Linked DNA regions of Homo sapiens: region 2 is linked to region 1. Evidence: promoter capture Hi-C in 16 types of primary human blood cells and fetal thymus (Javierre and others, 2016). All regions are on one chromosome and are shown on one strand. The core of a region is centred on a gene start or on the middle of the fragment in contact, and the rest is flanking DNA. Distances in the headings are between cores, read along the strand shown. Region 1 holds the start of C11orf24 (chromosome 11 open reading frame 24). Region 2 overlaps LRP5 (LDL receptor related protein 5).

The links. Contacts are between HindIII fragments. The CHiCAGO score rates a contact against its expected background, and 5 or more counts as called.
Region 2: a contact is called between a fragment that was not itself captured here and the fragment with the promoter of C11orf24 in region 1, in 8 of 17 cell types (megakaryocytes, endothelial precursors, total B cells and 5 more). The highest score is 17.0, in megakaryocytes.

What each region holds. Positions count from the first base shown.
Region 1 is chr11:68,269,870-68,275,583 of GRCh38, forward strand. C11orf24 (chromosome 11 open reading frame 24) reads right to left here and starts at 2,104. Exons shown (of 4, transcript NM_022338.4): 1 at 1,988-2,104. It overlaps LOC105369363 (a long non-coding RNA gene), which reads left to right and starts at 2,233. Exons shown (of 3, transcript XR_950248.3): 1 at 2,233-2,307. RefSeq lists silencers at 1,902-2,301, 4,181-4,240 and an enhancer at 2,213-3,067. The HindIII fragment of the contact is 7,211 bases long and covers 794-5,714 here.
Region 2 is chr11:68,378,947-68,384,660 of GRCh38, forward strand. All of the region lies in intron 5 of LRP5 (LDL receptor related protein 5), which reads left to right. Among named protein-coding and RNA genes, the nearest start is that of LRP5, 69 kb to the left of the region's middle. RefSeq lists enhancers at 1,472-1,561, 1,592-1,641, 1,942-1,991. The HindIII fragment of the contact is 4,863 bases long and covers 1,177-5,714 here.

The DNA.
Region 1 (5,714 bases), core at 854-3,353:
GCTATGGTCCTGCCTCCACTTTCCAACAGAATATTCTAAATGTCAAGATCCCATGCGGGAACCTGTGGTCATCTATGTAAGTTGACTCATGATGGACAAACCATTAACAACATTTAAAATAACAGTTTCCCCTGCAAAGGCTTCAAGCCAAAATTAGGATGTGGGTCTCGGGACCCCACCAGTTATTCTCATTATTATGTGGTACAGGGAGACTGGGTAGATCAGGGTCTCAGACCATAATAGATGGGAAAAAAGAGACCCCAGGGGCAGGAGGGGAATGAGCGAGAGAGAATTAAGTTTGTATTAAGTTGGAGACCAGGGCAGATGGAAAGACGGAAGGTTAGGCTGGCACTGGGAGCTCCCTTCTTCAGGGGTCAGCTCCCCATAGGATCTGCAAGGAAGGTGCAACAGGATACTCCCTTGAGCCATGTGACACTCCATGACAAAGGCACCCCCAACTATGCCCCTGGGTGTCAACCTCCCTATCCTTTTCTGGTTCATGACCTCGAGATGCCTCCCAAGGCATCTTGTCTGAATTCTTGTGTTCCGAACCTTGGCTTGTTATATGTGGCGCACTTTATGCAAGTTACACAAAACTGGACTCCAGGCGTGGTGCTGCATGCCTGTAATCCCAGACACTCAGGAGGCTGAGGTGGGAGGATTACAAGCCCAGAAGTTTGAGTTCAGCCTGGGCAACATAGTGAGACCCCATCTCTTAAAAAAAAAAAAAAAGGGAAAGAAATAACTTAATTCTTTTTTTCTGGCATAGAGAGGTTCCAAAGACCAATCCTGAAGCTTGGTAAAGGACTACAGCTGTTACCCCCACATTCTATCAGGCTATTAAGACTCACTCAGCCGCAACATGGCCAGGCCCCCACACCAAGTTAGGCAAGCTACAGATACCAAGGAGTAGGAACTGCAAACACAAATACAGGGCAAACTGCAGGTACCTAATCCTGACACGTCACCTGGCTGAACTTTGGTAGCAGAAGCCCAAGGAACACAGACTTATGGCTTTGTGTATATAGACATTGTCCTGTAGTCCAAAGGATGTGACTCTGTGGCAGACGGGAACCTAGAACATTGGACATTTATTATATTACATTAACTACCTTGCTTGCTTCCAGGTTTCTGGAAGTTTTGGTAACACAGCTAAATACTAGGGCCTAGTTTTTGCTAAGAACGTGGGTAGCTCTGACATTCCTTTGTCCATTAGGCAGATCCACTGTATAAATGGAAACATCTGTATTTTAAAGATTTTCCTAGCTGATTTTATCGAAATGTTAGAGATTTTCCTGGGGCGAGGGATAGCTGCAAGTTATTACAGTCAGATTTCTAAGCACGATGATTATTTCTGGTGGCAAACCATGCGTGTGGAGGCCGATTCCTCCTATCAGCCTAACGATTAAGTCAACATGCTAAGCAGCCACACGGGGGCTACTAAGTGACTCGCACGGGGGAAGCAGGCAGGGAGACAGATGGGCAGGGGAGGGAATCTGGGGCAATGCACAACCTCCACCCAGGTAGAGAGAGGGTCTGGGGGATAGGTCTGTGTCACTCAAGTAAGAGCGACACTTCTTGGGGTCCAGTCCCGTCCTGGGCTTGCCCGGGAAAGACCCCAGGACAAATTCGGCCCCCTTCCAGAGTGTCCCCATTCTGCTCCCACAATGGGACAAGCCGGCCTCTTCTCCAGTCTGGGCCCCCTTCGGCCCTCCTCCCTCCTCCTGTCTCTTGGGCCCCCAGCCATGCTCGGCCCCCAGTTGACTTCTTCAGTACCTGCATTGCTCAGCGTCTTGCACTCTGTGCGTGCCCCATCCGCCGCTCCTCCTGTCCCGTTCCTCCTGCCTCTCTCAGCCCCACTCACTCTCCCACTGCCCCTCGTGCCCCCATCCAACCCTCCTCCTGCCCCCCAACCTCTGTCTCTCAGTCCCAAGCCAGTCAGGGAGCCCTGACAGCAGCTACCCGGACGGCAGTGCGAGCCCCTTACCCGGGCGCAGCAGGCCCCCGGCGGCCTGGTGGCCCTCGGACAGTAGGAAGGAGCCTGAGGCCCGGCGCGGGGACGTGGCCGGCAGCGCAACCCAGGCAGCTCCGGGCAGCGCGCCCTGCCCGGGCCCCGCCCAAACGCCGGAAATGACGTCACGGAGGGCGGGGCGGGCCTGCTGGCCGGGGCGAAGAGCGGCTGCGGCGGGGCCTGTGGCGAACGGAGGCGAGCCGGAAGTGGGGGGGTTGTCTGCTCTCAGGCCCCGCCTCCCCGGGGCCGGCTCGGGCCACTTCTTGCGCGCTGCCAGAAGGAGCTATTTTGAGCAGGTCTGTGGCGGAAGTGGGTGTTCCCGGGTCTCTGCTGCCCAGCTGTGCCCGCTGCCGTCTTGGGGTCCCGGGGTGCGCGGGTTGGGCTGGGTGAGCTCAGAGGCACCTTGTCGGCAGCCGAGCCTGAAGAGGCGACCTCGAAACGCCTCGTGAGACCTTTCGCGGGCACACGCCCTTCGCGTTCCTCCGCTTCCTCCCACGTTTCTTCAGCCCCTGGCGGGGCGCTGGGGTGCCCGGTAGTTAAGGGTGGGGTGGCAGCGAGCGTTTCTGTGCACCCGCAGCGTGCCACGCCCGTGCTAAGCACTTTGCCTATAGAGCCAGTGGCTTAATTCTGCAATAGCACAGTGAAGAACTTCGCCTCATTTTACAGACGTGGAAACAGGCTCATCAAGTGCTCTGTAATTGTAAAACCTGGGATAACAAAGGAGCAAAACGCAATTTAGAGGCAAGTGTGTGGGACTTGACTTTGGTTAGAAATAGGCTTTGCAGGCCAGGCGCGGTGGCTCTTGCCTGTAATCCTAGCACTTTGGGAGGCCGAGACGGGCGGATTATCTGAGCTCAGGAGTTCGAGACCAGCCTGGGCAACATGGTGAAACCCTGTGTCTACTAAAATACAAAAAATTAGCCGGGCGTGGTGGCGTGCGCCTGTAGTCCCAGCTACTCGGGAGGCTGAGGCAGGAGAATTGCTTGAACCTGGGAGGTGGAGGTTGAAGTGAGCAGAGATCGTGCCACTGCACTCCAGCCTGGGCGACAGAGCGAGACTCTGTCTCCAAAAAAAAAAAAGAAAGAAAGAAATAGGCTTTGCAAGTTAGTAGTTCTGTGACTGAATCCCAGTCTGTATAAGACCCTCAGGCATCCCCCGGTCCAAACCAAAACCTGTCTGCGAAGGATGATTTCACAGGAGCAAACCAAGACTTTATTTCCAGTTTTATAACCTGCCTTGGGGTCTTCGGCTAGGAAGCTAAGAGACACAGAAAGCTGAGATTGGGCAAAGACAGGATCTACCATCCACTCCGAGCTCTGGGAGCACCTGAAATGCGATTTGATGTCACCACCACCATCCCCAGTTCAACCACAGTTCATGTGTGGAATTTAACCTGCAAAGTTGGGTTTGCTGAGACCCAACGCCGGTTGGATCATGTGAAGATCAGATCCTTTCACTATGTATTTGCTTTAATTTTTCCAACTAGTTCGGATCTAACATGAAGTACAGTATTGAGGCTCACTCCAGAAGTGAAAATATACAATCGGCAGGCAGATTTTAGTTCTTTGCCTGCCCTTTTCAAAAATCAATGACTGGGCTGGGCGCGGTGGCTCACGCCTGTAATCCCAACATTTTGGGAGGCCAAGGCGGGCGGATCACCTGAGGTCAGGAGTTTGAGACCAGCCTGACCGATATGGTGAAACCCGTCTCTACTAAAAATATAAAAATTAGCCAGGCGTGGTGGCGTGTGCCTGTATTCCCAGCTACTCGGGAGTCTGAGACAGGAAAATTGCTTGAACTTGGGAGGGGGAGGCTTCAGTGAGCCGAGATCTCACCACTGCACTCCAGCCTGGGCGACAGAGCGAGACTCCTTCTAAAAAAAAAAAAAAAAAAAAAAAAAAAAATCAATGACTGTGACTCTGTTTTCATTTCCTCTTTGGCAACATAGGGACAATTTTTACTGCTGGGGCTGAAATTACAAACATAAGACACAGCCTCTCCTCTAGAGCAGCTGGGCAGCTAGACCTCCATCTGCTTGCTTTTTTTTTTTTTTTTTAGACACGGAGTCTTGCTCTGTCGCCCAGGCTGGAGTGCAGTGGCGCCATCTCGGCTCACTGTAAGCCCCGCCTCACGGGTTCACGCCGTTCTTCTGCCTCAGCCTCCCGAGTAGCTGGGACTACAGGCGCCCGCCACCACGCCCAGCTAATTTTTTGTATTTTTAGTAGAGACGGGGTTTCACCATGTTAGCCAGGATGGTCTTGATCTCCTGACCTAGTGATCCGCCCGCCTTGGACTCCCAAAGTGTTGGGATTACAGGCGTGAGCCACCGCGCCCAGCCCATCTGCTTTCTTAAATTTCTATTGGAACAGAGTCATGCCTCTTCATTAGGTATTATCTGATGATAAAAGGGCACAGTCGACTAGTTGTAGAGACTATATGGCTCACAAGTCCTAAAATATTTACTCTCTGGCCCTTTACAGAATCTATTTGCTGATCTCCAGTCTAGAGTGTTACTGATGGGTTTCTGACACAGAAATATCTGGCTGAGATGGTCCAACATACCGGGAAACTCATTCTCTCCTATGAGAAAGTCATATTCTCTGATAGCATCTTTGGTCACCTGAAACCTAGTGTCCATTGAAGGCACAGCTCTGGGAACTGCAAAACTGTTCTGTGGAGTGTTATGGAGAGTAAAGCCAGGCAGACCAGCTGCTTCTGAGGGCTGTGGATAAAATAGAGAATGATACACTTACATCCTCTACCTTTTGTTTCCAGGCACAGATCATTTCAGGTGCCTTCTGTGCAGAAATAGCTGAATAAACTTGGAGCTTGGTCTCTTTGTTGTTGAATTTACAATGTTATTTGAATGTAAGACCTTGTAGATATGACATTTGAAAGTTAGGGCTCTGGAATGGCACTGCCTGGCTTCAGATCCTTCATTTTTTTGCTAAATGACAACAAACAAGAGGCTTAGGCTCTGTGCCTCCGTTTCATCATAGTCAATTCTGGTATTTGCAGTAGTTATGTTGAATAAAGTCACCCAGTACACGGACTTAGCAAATACTGCTCCTTGGAAACCACAGCTCCTAGGGAAGATACAGGGTTAGGTTCCTGTGAACCTCTGATCACAACATTTTTATCAACAGATCAATATACATAACTTTGTTTTTGTGTGTGTGTTTCTATTAAAGATGCTTTATTTAGGCCAGACACAGTGGCTCATGCCTATAATCCCAGCACTTCGGGAGGCCGAGGCAGATGGATCACCTGAGGTCAGGAGTTCAAGACCAGCCTGGCCAACATGGTGGAACCCTATCTCCACTAAAATCACAAAAATTAGCCAAGTGTGGTGGCCCATGCCTATAGTCCCAGCTACTGGGGAGGCTGAGGCAGGAGAATCACTTGAACCCGGGAGGTGGAGGCTACGGTGAGCCAAGATCACGCCATTGTACTCCAGCCTGGGCAACAGAGCGAGACTTCATCTCAAACAAAACAAAACAGAAACAAACAAAAAGAAGCCTTATTTAATGTCTATTATTGACTCATTAATTAACATTGAAAATGAGATGGGAATAATATAGGGTGGTCACAGGAGAATTAAATTCCAGGCAGCAGTTTTACATAACTAGAGACTATCGTCTTCTAAGACCCTGAAAAGCCAAGGTATGAACCAAGCTGGCTAAGACCAACTGGACCCAACATG
Region 2 (5,714 bases), core at 2,358-4,857, 110 kb after region 1:
TGAGGCAGGAGAATCGCTTGAACCCAGGAGACAGAGGTTGCAGTGAGCCAGGATCACGCCACTGCACTCCAGCCTGGCAACAGAGCGAGACTCTGTCTCAAAAAAAAAAATAAAAATAAAATAAATAAATACATAAATTGACTTTTAGGAGATTGGTTCAAACAATGTGTGTAATGTTGTGTCTGAGTGTTTTTCATTTATCGTTCATGCAAATTCCGACATCATTCACTCTTCTCCAGAGTGTGCTGTTTTCCTGCCTGTGTCATCACCCGTCACCTTGAATGCCCTCGTTTAGGTAAAATAAGTACATTTTATTCAAAAATATTTGAGGACATTTGGGTTGTCTCCAGGTTCTTGGTCTTGAGTTTTGCTGTTCTTGTGGAGCCATGGTGGTGTCTGGTTGCAGGAACCTCCATGCGTTCCAGCTGCTGCTTCTGCCTGTGTTCTTAGAGAGGAAATGCTGGGGTCCGCGGTTCCCGGGCTGCTGACCAGGAAGCCTGCGGTGCTTTACGGCCCTTCCAGAAGCGGGAGATGCCCCCACTTAAGTGTCAGACAGGCCTTTCCACCTCACTGGCAGCTCTGAGCGGCTCCCTTCTATTTGCAGATGACTGAGAAGTTACCAATTTCCACGTTTACTGACTGCTGTTTCTCCTGTTAATTTGTATTTATAGTCTTCGCTAATTTATTGCTAGGGTTTTGGTGTTGTCCCTATTGACTTGTATGCCTTTTAATTTTTTAAACAACATTAATAGACTTCATTTTTTTAGAGCAGTTTTAAGTTTACAGGAAAATTAAGGGACAAGTACAGAGAGTTCCTTCCACCTGCTGTCCTCCTCTCCTCCTCCCCACCTTCCCTCCTTCCCCTATTGTAACTTTCTTTCTGATATTATAAAAGTCACTCATGGCTGGGCGTGGTGGCTCACGCCTGTAATCCCAGCACGTTGGGAGGCAGAGGCAGGCAGATCACCTGAGGTCAGGAGTTCCAGACCAGCCTGGCCAACATGGTGAAACCCCGTCTCTACTAAAAACACAAAAAGTTAGCCAGGCGTGGTGGCGGGCACCTGTAATCCCAGCTACTCAGGAGGCTGAGGCAGGAGAATGGCGTGAACCTGGGAGGCAGAGGTTACAGTGAGTCGAGATCGCGCCACTGCACTCCAGCCTGGGCAATAAGAGTGAAGCTTCGTCTCAAAAACAAAGTCACACACGCTTCTTGTACGAGGGTCATTTGGCCGAGGGGCCAGATGGCTCACCATCTAGTTGGGACAGGCCATGAGCTCGGAATGCTTTTTACATATTTACATGGTTGAGAAGAAAATCAGGAGAATAATGTTTTGGGACATGGGAAAATGACATGGAATTTGCATTTTAGTGTCCATAAATGAAGTTTTGTTTGCTCCCAGCTGTGTTGACTGAGGCAGGCTGGCTTCCTACAGCTGCGGCAGAGCTGAGGAGGCGGGAAGGAGACCGTGCAGGCCGCAGCACCGAAAATATTTGCTCTCTGGCCCTTCCCAGAGTGCTTGCCGACCTCTGTCCGACAGCTAGAAGGAAGGATAGGACCCGTCCGACGATAACCACTGTTGACATTTGAGCGCGTTTCCTTCCCGGCTTTTGTGTGAGAGTGGCAGTCTGTTTGCTTTTGTGGTCGGGATCTGCTGCACGCACGGCGGGCTGTTTGCATGAGGCTTCCTGGAGGATAGGGCTGGGCTCGGAGCTGCACGCAGTGGGGCGTGTCCTGCATGCAGTGGGGCCTCAGAAGAGAGCTGTGGTGGGCGGGGCAGTGCCAATGCTGGTGGGTGCCAGGCCTCCACGCTCAGATCAGCCCCGGCGACAGGTTTGGGCCACCCTCTCTCTGGCCTCTGTGCAGTGGCCCAGGCCGTCTGCTCTGCCTGGCACACTTGCCTCTGTCCTTCCACTGAAGCGCTCCTCTTACCCTCTGCTCCCGGCTGGGTACGTTGAATTGTGTCCCTCAAGGAGATATGCTAAAGGTCTAACCCCAGGAACCTGTGTATGTGATCTAATTTGGAAACAGGGTCTTGGCAGATGTAATCAAGCGAGGATGAGGTCACCCTAGAGTAGGGGGCCTATATCCACGGTGCTGGTGTCCTCATGAGAGCAGGTGAGCAGACACTGACACTCAGGGGTGAAGGCTGCATGGAGTCAGAACAGGGCTTAGTGCGATGGCGGCCACAAGCCAAGGAACTCCAAGTATTTCCTGCAACACCAGAAGCTGGAAGATGCCAGGAAGGATCCTGCCCTGGAGCCTTCGGAGGGAGTCTGTCCCTGCAGACGTCTTGACTTTTGATTGCAGGGATGCATGTCTTAGGGTGTGTGGGGGGGTGCATTTCTGATGTTAGAAGCCACCTGGTTGGTGGCGATGTGTCACGGGAGCCCTCTGCAGGTTCTGCGTGTCCATGTGGTCGGGGACAGAGGTGGGCAGGGACGGACGGTGTCGAGCTGGACATGTCCATGACGTCGGCCATCCCTTGGGATGGCTTTTTTGTTTTGAGGATAAGGCTGCCTGCCAGGAAGCTGTGCCCTGCCTGGCCCTTGCCCCAAGCCCCTGGCCTGTGCTTGGCCTCGCGGAAGGGATGTCGCCCTTCTCTCCTGCATGCGTGCAGGGAGGAAGGGGAGAGGTCAGCAGCCCGCCTGGAGGAGGCTCGGGCGAGGGGAAGGTTTCACTTTCAGGCAATGTTGTGGGGCTGTTTAAACAACCCCAAAGAAAACCATTTGGCCAAACTGTTAGTTTCCAAACATTTTACTTCCTTGGTGTTTAAATAAATTCCTACCAAGACTCTGTAGCTGGTCCCAGGGAAGGAGTTGGCCTCTCTTCTTTATAGCCCGGCACAGTCAGTCCCCTGCACCTGCCCCTCCCAACCCCAGGCCTGCTTCCCCGTGGCCATGGCTGCTGCCCGGACCTCTCTACACACAGAACCTCCTGGAGGCCAGCTGTGGGCACCAGCCTTGGCAGGGCTGTGGCGGAGCCCAGGCTGCTGGTACTCTCTCTGCAGCTGCTCCCTGCTGGCCTGGCTGGACAGAGTCCCCACCACCACTGGGGTCACCTCTGTGCTGGTCACAGCTCACTCAGACCTTCAGGCAAATGGGTTGGATCCTGCCTCTCTCCCAGGTGTCTCAGTCTCTGCAAAACTCAAAAACCTCAGAGGCCTTGCAGCCTGAGGGGTGTCAGAGACACCTCCTTCGAGTCAGTAAACACCTACAGATTCACCCCAGCAGTGAAAGGACTGCTTCGCCACAGAGGTTTGATTTACTCCTAAGTAATTGGAAGGGATGCCGAGAATAGGTTCCTCATGGTGGGACTAGAGGCCCTCTGCTGACCTAGTTACCAGAGGGCTAGGGCTGGGTGTGCTCAGCCCCTGAAGGTTCTAGGCCCATTTGGGACACCCCGCCAGAACCTGCCACAACCTGCCATGTGGTGACAGCTACCTAAATCCCAGAGGCTCTTGAGCTGGAGAGCAGACCTCTCAATCTCAGCAGGCCCCCCACACAGACCCCATAACCCTAGTCTGCCTTCACAGTACAGTTCGTGGCTATGTGTTCACGGATGGTGTCGTTCACCTAAGGTCTCTGCCCTGTGACCCCAAGGGCGTCCTGAGGGCAGATTCCAAGTCTGTTTCGTCCACCCCTCCTTCCCTAGCAGCGGGTCCAGGGCCTGGCCTGAACTAGCTTCCCACAGAGATACTGGTGGGATGATGAAGGCAGCCAGGCGGCAAGTGAAAAACGCACTTCCTGCATGTGCTGGCTCCTGGGATTGAAGTGTTTGAGGAAGCAAAGTGAAGTGAGCTTTCCTCTTGCGGCTGTGTGTCCTTGGGCCGGGAGCCTACCCTCTCTGAGCGTTGGGGTCCTTGTCAGTAGAATGGGGCATCCTCATAGCTCAAGGGGTGGTGTGTGAAAATTGTGCTATTGTGTTACTTTAATGATTTTTTTTTTTTTCGAGACAAAGTCTCACCCCAACGCGCAGGCTGGAGTGCAGTGGCGCGATCTCAGCTCATTGCAACCTCTGCCTCCTGGGTTCAAGTGATTCTCCTGCCTCAGCCTCCCAAGTAGCTGGAATTACAGGAGTGCGCCACCAGGCCTGGCATATTTTTCTATTTTTAGTAGAGAGGGGGTTTTACCATGTTGGCTAGGCTGGTCTTGAACTCCTGACCTCAGGTGATCCACCTGCCTCGGCCTCCCAAAGTGCTGGGATTACAAGCATGAGCCACCGCGCCCGGCCTACTTTAGTGATTTCTTAGGAGGACAGAGGGAACGGGCTGGCAAGACAGGCTTGGAATGTGTTTTGGGATCAAGTGCCGGTTTCTGTCTGGCACTGGCGTTCTCTGTGGGGCCATGATGGACACACTGCTGAGGTCAAGCGTGATTCGTCTTGCGCTGTGCCTGGCAGTCTCATTGGAAAGTTCTGTAGACATCGTGTGGATGGGGCTCTTCCCGGCCAAGCCCTTGGGGACCTTCCAGGACTGTGATCTCCCCACAGTGGCTGTTAAGCAGGGACCTTTCGTGAAGTGGAGTCTCTGGTCCCCTCCAAGTCATAGCTAGACAGGGACTCGGGCATCGCCAAGCCTGGCTGATTATTCACTGGATGAGGAGACAGGCCCAGAGAGGGGCAGGAACCTGCCCGAGGTCACCCAGCAGGCCCCAGAGGTTTCGGTCTCGGATTCTCCCTGCTCATCCCTGGATGTAGTGCTGCTGTGGATGTGGTTCTGTGCTGGGGGCTGTGGAGAGCAGGGGGCTTGTGCCAGGACCCCAGTGAGGGTGGCGCCCTCGCCATGAGGCCGACTGTTGGTATGGGGCGGCCATCCACTGGGGTGTGGGGAGGAACAGCTTTCCTGAGGAGGAGGTGGCGGGAGGAACAGCTTCCCTGAGGAGGAGGTGGCGGTGCTGTGTGACCTGGGCCTTGAAGGACAGGTCCATTGTCAACAGAACATTTTGGGAGTGGAGCCTAGAGGGAGAAAATTTGTTGAAATTCAGATTCCCCTCCCCCTACCAATACACACCAAATCAGATGCCCCTGACCAGATCTAAATTTGGCTCTCAGAGATTTCCATTGTAGCTGGGCACTTGGGGAACCTTCTAAGTGCTGCCTCTGCCTCTCCCCAGCCTGCCTGCCTCAGTTTCCCCAGCCCTGGGCCCGTGTCGCTGTTGCCATCACGTGGGCGCCCTCTAGTGGAGGAATCAGATTATGCACTCCGGGGCTTGGAGCAGGAGTCAGGAGGGGCTCCTGTCTTTCCTTGAAACGTTGGATGCCGGGATCCTGGAACAGTCTCTGCATTCCTCCTGGCGAGAGCCAGAGCCTGGGCACAGGGGACCATCTGTTGTTTGAAGGCTGCAGCCTGGCAGGGCACTCAGGAGATCTGGCAGTTGGCTGCAGGGCCAGGTCTAGGGGCCAGGGCATCAGGGAGGCTCTGGGCTGGTTCAGCCCCGGGCCCCTTTGCAGATTGTGACCTGGGCCCCTGTGCAGGGGCATGGCCACAGGATGCTGGGAGGGGTCTCTGACCCTGACCTTCTTGGCTCTGTGCATCCTTGAGACCAGAAAGGTCTGGAACAAATGAGTAGACGATGCCCTAACCTGGGGAGGGAGCCACATCCTGATCCCAGCAACCTCAGGAAGGATCTGTCAGGATTATGGGGCACCCTGGGGGCCCCAAGTCTGCATGGGTCTCCACTTGCAATTTCTGTAGGAAGCTCTGATAAATCCAAAC